3 separate regions of the Homo sapiens genome follow, and all the other regions are linked to region 1. Evidence: promoter capture Hi-C in 16 types of primary human blood cells and fetal thymus (Javierre and others, 2016). All regions are on one chromosome and are shown on one strand. The core of a region is centred on a gene start or on the middle of the fragment in contact, and the rest is flanking DNA. Distances in the headings are between cores, read along the strand shown. Region 1 holds the start of FSIP2 (fibrous sheath interacting protein 2). Region 2 has its middle 460 kb from the start of FSIP2. Region 3 has its middle 410 kb from the start of FSIP2.

Evidence for each region. The method cuts DNA at HindIII sites, captures the fragments that hold promoters and counts their contacts. A CHiCAGO score of 5 or more calls a contact.
Region 2: a fragment that was not itself captured here is called in contact with the fragment with the promoter of FSIP2 in region 1 in 2 of 17 cell types (megakaryocytes and erythroblasts); the score reaches 6.4 in megakaryocytes.
Region 3: a fragment that was not itself captured here is called in contact with the fragment with the promoter of FSIP2 in region 1 in 1 of 17 cell types (megakaryocytes); the score reaches 5.6 in megakaryocytes.

Annotation. Positions count from the first base shown.
Region 1 is chr2:185,736,746-185,740,612 of GRCh38, reverse strand. FSIP2 (fibrous sheath interacting protein 2) reads right to left here and starts at 1,809. Exons shown (of 23, transcript NM_173651.4): 1 at 1,620-1,809; 2 at 1,142-1,267. The coding sequence starts at 1,718. It overlaps FSIP2-AS2 (FSIP2 antisense RNA 2), which reads left to right and starts at 136. Exons shown (of 3, transcript NR_110217.1): 1 at 136-234. RefSeq lists a silencer at 1,408-1,677. The HindIII fragment of the contact is 3,199 bases long and covers 1-2,037 here.
Region 2 is chr2:185,273,780-185,277,646 of GRCh38, reverse strand. No RefSeq gene overlaps it. Among named protein-coding and RNA genes, the nearest start is that of FSIP2, 460 kb to the left of the region's middle. The HindIII fragment of the contact is 2,958 bases long and covers 498-3,455 here.
Region 3 is chr2:185,322,639-185,326,505 of GRCh38, reverse strand. No RefSeq gene overlaps it. Among named protein-coding and RNA genes, the nearest start is that of FSIP2, 410 kb to the left of the region's middle. The HindIII fragment of the contact is 724 bases long and covers 1,740-2,463 here.

The DNA.
Region 1 (3,867 bases), core at 560-3,059:
TCTATGGTACATTGTTATAACAGCCTGAACTGTATAAGACATTAAGCAAGTATCAAATACCAAGGGGTTCTATTTATTTCTGATGACATCATAGACATTAGAAGGGTAAGTGGGCCACTTAGAATTCTTTCTTGTAGAACTTTTTGCAAAACTGATAAAAGCAACCAGTCAACAAGAATGTACTAAACCTCCTTCAGCATTGACTACTTAGTCAAAGGCTGGGGAGGTTTGGGGGTAGGTGTGGTGTTAAGGACTAAAAACATGAAAAGGCTTAAGGGAAGTACACACTATAATCCAGTATGATTAACTATGGTTTGTGTAAGTGAGATCACACAAATCAAGGGCAACGTGAACTCTAAGCAAAAATAAGCTAACGGGGGGGCTATCACAGTTCAGAGAATCTTGATAGCTCAGATTCATAGACTGGGGAGAAGAAGACAAGGTATGCCAGGTTTGGGGGCAAAGTTGACAAAATACTGAAGTATTAGCATGGTATTTATGGGTAGGTGTGAAAGACTCAACTTGAAGAAGCTGAGCCTCTCTGGTTGGAGACAATGCTGGATGGAAAGGCTGGGGCAAATTATGGAGTCTCTTCCTCATTGAGGCAGGGCTTTCTTTCATTAAAGTAAGGTTAAAGTACTAAACATATTAACTCATTTTAAGTCCCACTGTTTCAGTTCTTTTTTTTTTCTTTATGTGTAAAATAGAATTCAACTCAAAACAAAATAATGTTTCCCGTGAAGAGAGTTTGGTCCAAGATACTGTCAGTTAAAATCGTAACATATCATTAAATGGCAGCTATCACTAATAACCTTTCAGCTTCTAAACATGTTTCTAAGTACATCAAATCTTACTATATAAGTATATATGAAGTTTTATTATAAGGAATATTAATATGGTACCGTGAATTGTTAATTAAGGACTAAGAATCTAAACTTTCTGGAATATGATTATGTCCAAACCATTAAGATGAAAGTGCTTCATATGCATTCTAAACAATACCTTCGGTCAGATGTGGGATTTTCTTTTTCCTGTAAATGTTGATGCAAATTCCTTTAATGAATTTTGTATGATGCAGCCTTTGAGTTAAACAGCAAGTAGTAAAGGGTAAAGGAAAGAAAGACGATAAAAACTTGTTCACCTTTTCACCGAAATTCGTAGTATAGAATACAGCATTGCTTCCTGGGATCACAGGCAGCTTGACCCCGAGAGGTAGGTCCAGTAGCTGAGCCGGTCCAACCCCTGCAAAGTGGGTTTTGTGCACGCCCTGTCAGACACAATTGGAGAGTTTTGTCTTTCCTTTTAGGCAGTATTAGTTTAGTTTAGACCAATCTACTTCCATTGCAACCAAAGACTCCGAAGAATTATACAATCAGGGTTCGGGGCATCCTGAAGTCCTCCCGTTTTCCCTGGTCACCAGCTCTCCTGGCGTCCCGCGCCTGCCAGTTGCGGCCGGTACAGTCCGAGCCACCGCCACCGCCCCCGGGCGCCGCAAGAGGGCAGCCTCCTGACGGGGGACAGTTGGGAGCCTCGCGACCCGTGTGTGGCGATCCCTGCCCCGCTCCCCAGCAGGCCTGCGGCCGCCAGAGGGCGACGCCGCCCAGCTTGCGGCCACTCACGTCTCTGCACTGCTGGGTGTCCGCGGCCAGGACGCTGGCGACCGTCTTGGTGACGGCGACTTTGGCAGGCTTGGAGCAGGCGCCGAGGTACAGCTCCATGGCCGGCACAGCCCCCTCAGCCCCTTCCTCACCCGCCCCGCTCTCCTTCTCTAGCACCCCGTTGTCCCTCTGTCCGGACCTGACCAGGAATGGCCAGAGCCCAACGACCTCAGCCCCGCCCCCCGCGTTCCAGGCTTCCAATGGTAGCGGCCCCAGAAGGGCGGTGGCCTCCTGAGGGGCGGCTCGCGCCAGCGCGTAGAGCGCCCGCAGAGCTGGGAAAATCGGTCCGAGAGGCCTGATCTGAGAGGACCACAGTTGAAACTTCATCTTTCTCTGAAACCATCACGCCTTAGCCAATCCTAACGAAAACGTATAAGCTTTGTTGGTGGGTAACTGGTTAATTTCCCCTGGCTTCCAAGGAGCCCTGTTCCGTTCAATAAAAATTCCCGAGTGATTGTTTTTGCCCATTCTACATCTTCCCCCATATAGACCACACCCCATCCCCAGGCTCCCACAGCTTCTTCCCACACCAGGTCCACAAGGCAGACGCGTTGGCTTCCTAAGGGGCTCATTGCCTTCCTCCTGCCTCTTCTGTCCCCTAGGTTTCCTTCTCCTTTCTAGCGCCCTTTACCACTCTCCCACTGCCTCCTCTCTGCTCCTGCAGCTTGATCCTATTTCCCTCTTTCTCCTCAACCATCCAGCCGAAATTTATAAAGTGCTTGACGCTTCTGGGCCAGTCATTGAGCTAAGCACTGGGCAGGACACAGCCGTGAGTAAAATATGGCCCCTGACTGTAAGAAGCTAACTAGACTGGGAGTATTCTGAGGGCAGAGACAGTATGTGTCTAACCCACCTGTTGTTTAGACTTAACTTCATACTTTCTTTGGTCCACTGCTGTTCTCTTTTATTTCTGGCCCGACTAGTAATAACAGTTACCATTTCTTCAGAATCTACTAACTTCCATATACTGTGCCAAACACCCTTTTAAACATTTATTTATTTTAGTAGCCTTATCAATAATTACTCTTTATTTTTCAAAGATTGAGGAAGACTGACAATTGCTGTTAAATGGTGGCTCCTGAGGCTGTTTTCTTAATCAGTGCACTCTGCTCTCTTTGTTGTAATTCCACACATGTGCTTAGGACTCTTAAATTTGAAATCTAAGCTTGGGATATAGTCTATTGCCAGCTTCCATATGGATATCCCACAATTGTCTTAAATTCAATCTACTCAAATCTCAACACACAACTTTCACCAAAACAGGAAAAAAAAACAAAGGCTTCTTCCTGCATTTCCTATCTCAGTGACAATACCAAAGTCTACCCAAGCCAGAAACTAAGGAATGCTTCTAGATACTTCTTTTTCCCCTTATCTCCCATGTTTAGTTGGTCCCCAAGTCCCACTAATTTTATCACTAAAATTAATTTGCCCGATTCTATCTACTCCTACTTTACTCTCCCGGTTAAGCCGCTAATCATTTTTTGTTTGTTTGTTTGTTTGCACCATTGCCACAGCCTTATAACATCTCCCTGCCACCATCTACCCCAAAAATCCATCTTGTATCAATTTGATCTTTGATGGCAAACTGACCATTTCTCTTCCTCACTTTAAACTCCCAACTGCCCTCAGCGCAAAGTGTGTAATGGCCTCTGTTACTTGGTCTCTGTATCAGTTTCTTATTGCCAGCAAATCACCACAAACTTAGTGGCTTAAATTACCACAAATATATTACCTTACAGTGATGGAGGTTAGTAATCCAAAGAGAATCTCACTGGGCAGAAACCAGTGTATTGGAAGTGCTGTGTTCTTTCTGGAAGCTCTAGATCACAACCTATGTTCTTGCCCTTTCCAGCTTCTAGAAGTTGCCTCTTCCTCACACGTTAAATCTGGCAATGTAACATCTTCAAACCTCTCTCTGACTCAGACCTCTGCTCCTTCTCTTCTACAATTAAAGAATCATTGTGATTACATTGGGCCCATCTAGGTTATCCATGCTAATTTATCTATCTTAAGATCAGCTGATTAGCAACCTTAATTCCATTAGCAATCTTAATTCCTCTTTGCTATGAAATATTCACATACTCAGTCTTGAAAATGAGGACATAGACATCTTTGGGGTACTATTATACTACCTCTCACAGCCCTGTTTTTGTCCATCTCTGAGACATAACTCCCCTGTACCACCTCTCAGAATTGAACCTCAAATGAC
Region 2 (3,867 bases), core at 727-3,226, 460 kb after region 1:
CTCTCTTTTATTTTTTTAATTCGTAAAAGCTAAATACTCATTTTCCTCACTTTTATAGCTAGAAACTTTCAGTATCCTGGTCCTGACTTTATTGGGCCACTGATACAAGAAAAGCAGCAACGTAACTATGGTTCTTGTTATGTGAGACAAACTGTTATTTGTGGTTTTTCAGCCAGATAATTTAATACTTCCAAATACTTAATGGCTTTTGGAGGAAAGACCAAAGACTCTTTATTGCTCTCTATACTGTAAAAAATAGTATTGTGTATGGACAGACTATTATATGCAATTATTACATATGGTGTGTTCATACGTAAAATGCACTTCACATATTACAGAATCTTATTTATTTATATATTAATTACTTCACATATTTATAGCTCTGTCTCATGTGACCAAAACATAAGCTCAATGAGGGCAAGAAAATAGTTCCTTATAATTTTGTCCCTCTTGCTTAGAGAAATGTGTGATGCAGTATAAAAAACTCATTAAAAGCTTCCTTATTTCATTAAAAAGTATATATGCATAAAATTATGTAAATGTATACTATTTTTAGAACTTTTGAGAAAACATTGCGTATATTATTTTGCTCCTCAAAGAAAACTTAGAAAATATATTGATAGCTTATTATATCAAACATTCTACCTGAATATATTTTATGAATAAGAATATATGCTGTATAGTTAGGTCAGTAAATGGATGAATAAATGCAAGAATAAATAAAAATTAGTAATTTTTGACTGACGTTCCCAAAAGAATTAATTATGAGTTCATGAAAAGCATGTATGTTATATATTTTTTCAAATTGCTGGCAACTGAATATTTAGCACTGGGTCTTAGGTAACTGACAGATCTTTAGAATGAACTGAGAAGGCCAAGGTACATCTTACCCAATCACCACAATAATGAGACATACTGTCTTTCTTTAATTAAATGAAAGTAGCTTTGAAGTATTTTTAGACATAATCTCAACTAACTTTTTAATTTCAATATATTGATATTTATTGCGGGATTTGGCCAGCAGCCCACAATGCAACGGGGCTCTTTCTTTGTTTCCAGGCAGATTGGCAGGTCGAGAAATAATAGACACACACAAGATAGTGAAAGCTGGGTCCAGGGGAGTCACCTCCTTCTGGTCCTGCAATGCCGCCAATGCACTGGATACACCAGCATTTATTATTAAGTTTAGTGAGGGCGGGGGTAGGTTAGTGAGGGATTTAGGGTCATTTGATTATGAGGTGAGATGGTCACATGGGGATGAAGTAATTCTTTAACATAATATTGGTATGCAGAAGTACAGTATACAGAGATAAGAATTTACAATATAGTGTGTGCATCAGCAATTTCTAACAGAGCCTTAAAACAGAAACACAGTCTTTCCATAACCTATGATTAGTAAGATATTAATCAGCAGTAACAGTTGCAGCAAACAATCAATAGAAACAGGACATGAAGCTGGACAACCGGTTAGACCAGAAATTCTCAGAAGGGACTATGCCTTAACCCTAAAGAGGCCTAGAAGAGCCGTGGCAAGATGAGGGCATTTATAGCCCTATCTTGTCCATATGGACAGGCGCCCCTCATGCATCCTTTTATAGGTTCTCCACAAGGGTCACATTCCATTCCCAGAGCTATGACCATCTGCTTTTCTGGGATAGGAATCTTGGTGATGTGAAACCTCCCTGACTTCATGTCCATTCATAGGCTCTCTGCAGAGGGAAGCACATCACATGCTGTTGGCTCATTCTGGCAGCCCAGTCTGGCATTGTCTTTACACAATCCTGCATGCAATTTTGTATTTACAATAATCAGGAGCCTTTCATCTTTTATTCCATAGCAATAGTTTCAGGGGGTCTCCTTACAGCTACTTAATTGCTCTTTTGAGTATTTTATCAAATGAATTATTCCCACCAGAAAATCATCCTTGAGGGAACTCATTCATGATTTGCTGAATATTCTCTGACCTAACCTGGCTAAATTATTGGTGATTTTTTTTTGGAAAAAACAAATTCTTAAATAGATATTTTAGTTATATAAAATGTAATATATATGTATACTACCATACATGATGAAGTTAGAAGACCTAAATTTTTTTAAAAAAATGAAAATTGTTTTTTAAGTTCCCTTGGGGAGAAAGCAATTGTCAGTTTAATTACCTTTTTCCATTCATAAAGTAGGTCTATGAAGTTAGACAATCTTTACTGCAGTGCAAGTGAGCTTCATATTAATGGCAGCTTCTAGAATGAAGCAAAATTAGTTTTGGGAGAGAACTTAAAGGTCATGTAGTCCAAACAGATAAGGAAACATTCTGTGAGGTTTGTGATTAATCAAACACTGTATGGTTAAGGGTAGACACAGTATTTGAATATAAACGAATAAGGAAGTGGGAATAGTCAGAGAAAAGCTGTCAGACCACAAATTACAAAGGAGTCAAGAGGCAAAGTTGATTTTTCAGAAGAATGAAGAGTTAGTTTTTAGATATGTTGAATTTAAAATGGAAATGCCCAGCAGGCAATTAGAGATCCAGGATTGAAATTTAAAGTAGAGGGATTACAGCTAGAGATGGGATTTTAGGATCAGTCTCAGAGAGGTGATTGTTAAGCACTACGCTCTATGAACTCTCTTGGGAGGGTTAAGACTGAAGACTAAAATTCACAATAAGCATATATAAGAGTGAAAGAAAGGAAAGCTATAAAGTGACTTCAGGGGACTTTCTCTCATTTGTCTCACTCTCGCCTGTGTATTCAATCACTCCTATTATGATTCATTTCTAACACCTTTTAAGATTATTAAGGATCTGCCATCTTAAATACAGAAATAAATGATGCCTCATATCTACCCCCGCCAAACATGTGTAGGCCTATCTCTACCTACTGTTTCACAGCCACCTTTCTTGAAAGATTACATATTATTCACTGTCTTCATTTATTTTTATTTTTTTAACTCATACTATTTGGCCTTAGCTCTCTCTCTTCTCCTTGATCTCTTTGGTAAGGTTGCCAATCAATGGCTCCTTATAATAACTACAGTGGACAAACTACAGTGCTTCTGCTTTACTTCTTGTAAAGAAGTGATTATGTTAATCACTTTCTCCTTCATTGGTCCCTTTCCTAGGAACTTCAGGTATTCTTTCAACCTCTTTGATAAAATTTTGTATCACAATTTTATTGTTTTTATTTCTTTCTTTTATTTGTGTTAGTATTTCTTGGAATTCTGCAAGAGTTGTATCTCATACTTAACTGAAGAATGATACCAGGATAGTTTCACTCACAACTGTTTCTTCATATGTTAATATGACTGTATATGGCTAAAGAAAAAAGTATTGTTACCACATGTGTTTAATTAACCACAGGTTATATCTCTATTTTCCCAGCTACATTACATTGTGCAAATTTTAGTTCCCAACAATGGAAAGCCCTATGGATTGCACTCAGCTGAAGTGGCACCTCCAAGCTTGCCCTATTTAATTCCACATGTAAGTCAATTGGCACTATAGACTATACACTCAACATGCTTAAAACTAACCCGAGCACTAAACCTCTTATCTGAGCCTACTTTCTCTGTGGAATGCACATGTCTACGTGCAGACACAAATGCTGTGTGTAATTCCTTTGCCTTTTTCGTTGTAAAGTGATTAGAATTTCTATGTTTACAGAATAAGGAAAAGTCCTTATTAATTTTAAATAAGGCTTACATTATGAATGCTTCAGCACAAGGTGACATATTAAAGGCAATTGCTATTTTCCAAAACAAGCCATGAGCATTTTGATACAAAAAGAATGATTTGGAAAGTGTAGAGAACGAATGACCAATAAAAATTTAGAATGCATTCTTTTTATTTGCCTATGTGAGGTTGAGGGAAGAAAC
Region 3 (3,867 bases), core at 852-3,351, 410 kb after region 1:
ACAACAATTCTCCAGAACAAGAAACAGAATGCAATAGAATTAAGAAGAAACCATCTATTTCTCATTCAGATTTAAAATGCCTTTCATTGCCTTGAGGGTCACCACATTCTATATTATTATATACATGTGCATACATAGAAACATGCATATATCACACCAGAAGGTGGCATTTCAAAATATACACAGATTTCATTTTTACAGTATTAATAAATTATTATTTTAGTATGTAGTGTATAGCCTGCTACCAGAAACCAGTATGAAAAGATTTGCAAAAGAAGAATCAATCAGTCAAATTCTCCTCACATCTATTCCTTACAGATTCTATGTATTATTGTAGTTGCTATTGTTGCTATGGAGGAAGATAAAATGGTAATAAGAATTTATAATTAATGCAGAATTACAAGCTTCATGTTAGGGCTACTATAGGCTTCTATGAATCCATATGCCATAAGTTTAATATATAAATTATAACTTTATGTAAGAGTTAGAGAGATAAAGAATGGAGGTAAGAAAGCATGTAATGATTCTGGAACATAATGTAATAAAGTTCAGTTTTAAGTGGTGATAACATGGCAGGTGTTTACAGCAAATTCATACAACAATTAAAGAATGATCAAAAATTTATTTTGATACATATTTTGAAAGTAAACTTCAAGGGCATCGAAAAGTCATTTTTAAAAGTCTGGTTTTAATCCTAAATTAATGGGGGTCATTGCAGTATTTTAACATTTAAGTGATTAAAATTTTTGAAATGGGTGTGTGTAATTATTTCTTAATCCTAACGTTTACTTTTTAAAAATTAGAATGAATTTACAAAAAAACATGGAAGAAGATGTACTAGGAACAGTGAACATAAACAAATCCTTCAAGTTTTGTTACAGGAAAGACAAATACCACATGTTTTCACTCACGTGAGAGCTAAAAAAGTAGATCTTATGAACGGAGAGAGTAGATTGGTGGTTATCAGTGGCAGGAAAGGGTAGAGGAGAGGATAAAGAGAAGTTGATTAATGGGTATAAAAATACAGTTTGACAAGGCCAGGCACAGTGGCTCACACCTTTAATCCTAGCACTTTGGGAGGCCAAGGCGGGCAGATCACGAGGTCAGGAGATCAAGACCATTCTGGCGAACACGGTGAAACCCCATCTCTACTAAAAATACAAAAAATTAGCCGGGCATGGTGGCACGCGCCTGCAGTTCCAGCTACTCGGGAGGCTAAAGCAGGAGAATTGTTTGAACCTGGAAGGTGGACGTTGTAGGGAGCCAGGATCGGGCCACCACGCTCCAGCCTGGGTGACAGAGCGAGACTCTGTCTCAAAAAAAAAAAAAAAATACAGTTTGATAGAAAAAATAAGACTGAGTGTTTGATAGATGAGTAGGGTGACTATAGTTTGCAATAACTTATTGTATATTTCAAAATAGCTAGAAGATAATAATTAGAATGTTCCTAGCCTTTAAAAAAAAGAAAAATATTAAAGTGATGGAATCCCAACAACACTGATTTGATCTTTAAATATTATATAAATGTGTGCTACATTATCACATATACTGTGAAAATATGTACATTTGTTATGTATCAATAAATTATTTTCCAATGTTTTTGTTACCCAAAAGAGCAGAAAAAAAGAAAGCTGTATGTAAAGAGTGGTGGGATTAAGAAAGTTAGAGTAAATATACTAACTCTCAAGATCACCCTTAGAGACTATTATGTGAAGAGCCAAGTAGAAGAATCTGAAGCTTCCTCTTCACCAAAATTTAAGTCAAAAGTTTATCATATTCTAGGAGTGAGACTGAGGGAGGGACAGAGGCAAATCACAAATATTACCATCAGTGTTAAAGATGTCAAATCCTCAAGGGTAACGATTCCTAGAGCTTTCTTATTTAAAATCCAGTTTTACCAGTGCAGAAAAATTAGATCAGTCTTAGAGAATGACAGTATATTATCAATGATTATAGCTAATGTTCAGTTGGTCTTTCAGTGGTGTTCAATCTAGCCAATGCACTTTTTTTGTATTTTGAAATCTGAGAATGTGAGAAATTGTATTGAAACTAGCTAATCCAGTGATTCTACTTTATCACCTGTCTCAGCTTTATGTAGTCTCTCCTGCTTTTGTAGGCATCATACATGGAGAGGGCTTTTCTTTCCCAATTGTTAACGCAAAAGGATAACAGCTTTATCTGATGCTTGTTACAAGAGAAGGCTACCTAGTTTCCAGGCTGCACTGTAAATATTTCTGTCACATTGCCAGAAAGCAAGTTGAAATTAGTTGTGGTTGATCTGACTACTGTATACAGCCTGTGTCAAACACCAAATAATCCCAACGGAAGCTCCTATGTTTGGGGGCAAAATAATGCCCTCTTTATCAATTTACTGCTCCTCATCTGAGGGATAGTTCTTGCTTCTGGCTCCACTTGATCAACAAAGTTGTGATTATGGAACCTCAGGTAACCACATTTCAAGCTTTTCGTTATAAACTAATGCATTCTTAACACCAAGCTACAAAGTAAGATATACAAGCAGATTATGTCAGCACAAAGGACCAAGCCAAGAGAAGGTATACAAACATTTCGATTAGCTATTGGCAAGTCTGTTACATGACTACCAATTTTTCAACATTTATCCCTAGTCACATGGAATATTCCCACTATGAATATCTGTTGGAGGAAAAAAAAAAATTGAAGCCTAGCTCGAAGAGAGTTGTGTAAATATGATGGCATACTTCAGATATGAAGAGATGTGGAAGTGTGACAATGCCATAGCTATGCTCAGGGATAGCCCTGATGGACAATAAAACAGGAACATTATTAGTACCAACTAGAAACTCCTAGCAGAACTATAAAAACAACAGCAATGTTTGCCTATTTTTTTTCCAAAATGTGAAAATAAAAATATAGAATTTACTAGTAAAGCTATCAGGTGCTGAACTTTTATTTATTGGGAGATTTGTGATTATTGATTCAATATTCTTGTTTGTTATTGTCCTATTCAGATATTTATTTCTTCCTTATTCAGGCTTGATAAGTTGTGAGTTTCTAGGAATTTATTTATTTCTTCTAGGATATCCAATTTGTTGGCATATAATGGATCATAGTAGTCTCCTACGATCCTTTGTATTTCTGAAATATTCGTTCTTATGTCTCCTCTTTCATTTCTGAGTTTACTTATTTGAGTCTTCTTTTCCTTAGTTATTCTAGTTTAAATTTTGTCATTATTGAAGTCTTCAAAAAACACTTCAGTTTTTTTCTACTATTTTTCTAGTCTCTAATTCACGTCTGCTCTGATTTCTGTTATTTTCTTTCTTTTACTAACTTTGGTGTTTGTTTTTCTTTTTCTAGTTTTTGAGGTATAAAGTTAAGGTGTTTGAAATGTTTTTCTTCTGTAATCATTTTTTGTTAGAAATGTCCTTTTTAGTACTCTTTATGCTGTATCGCATAAGTTTTTGCATGGTATGTTTCCATTTTCATTGGTCTCAATATATTTTTAAATTTCCTTTTTGATTTCTTCTTTGACCTTGGCTGTTTAGAAATATGTTGTTTAATTTCCACATATTTGTGAATTTTCCTATGTTGTTCTTATTATTGATTTCTAGTTTTTTACCATTGTTGGAAAAGGTACTTGGTATGATGTTAATCTTCTTAAATTTGTTAAGACTTGTTTTCTGGCCTAACATATGATCTATCCTGGAGGATTTTCTCTGAGTGCTTAAAAAGAATGTGTATTCTGCTGCTGTGAAAAGAAGTTTTTGAATATGCCTGTTAGGTCCATTTGTTCTAAATGACAGTTCAAATCTAATGTTTTCTTGTTCACTTTTCTGACTGGATGAACTATCCATTGTGGACAGGAGGTTTTTGACATATCCTACTATT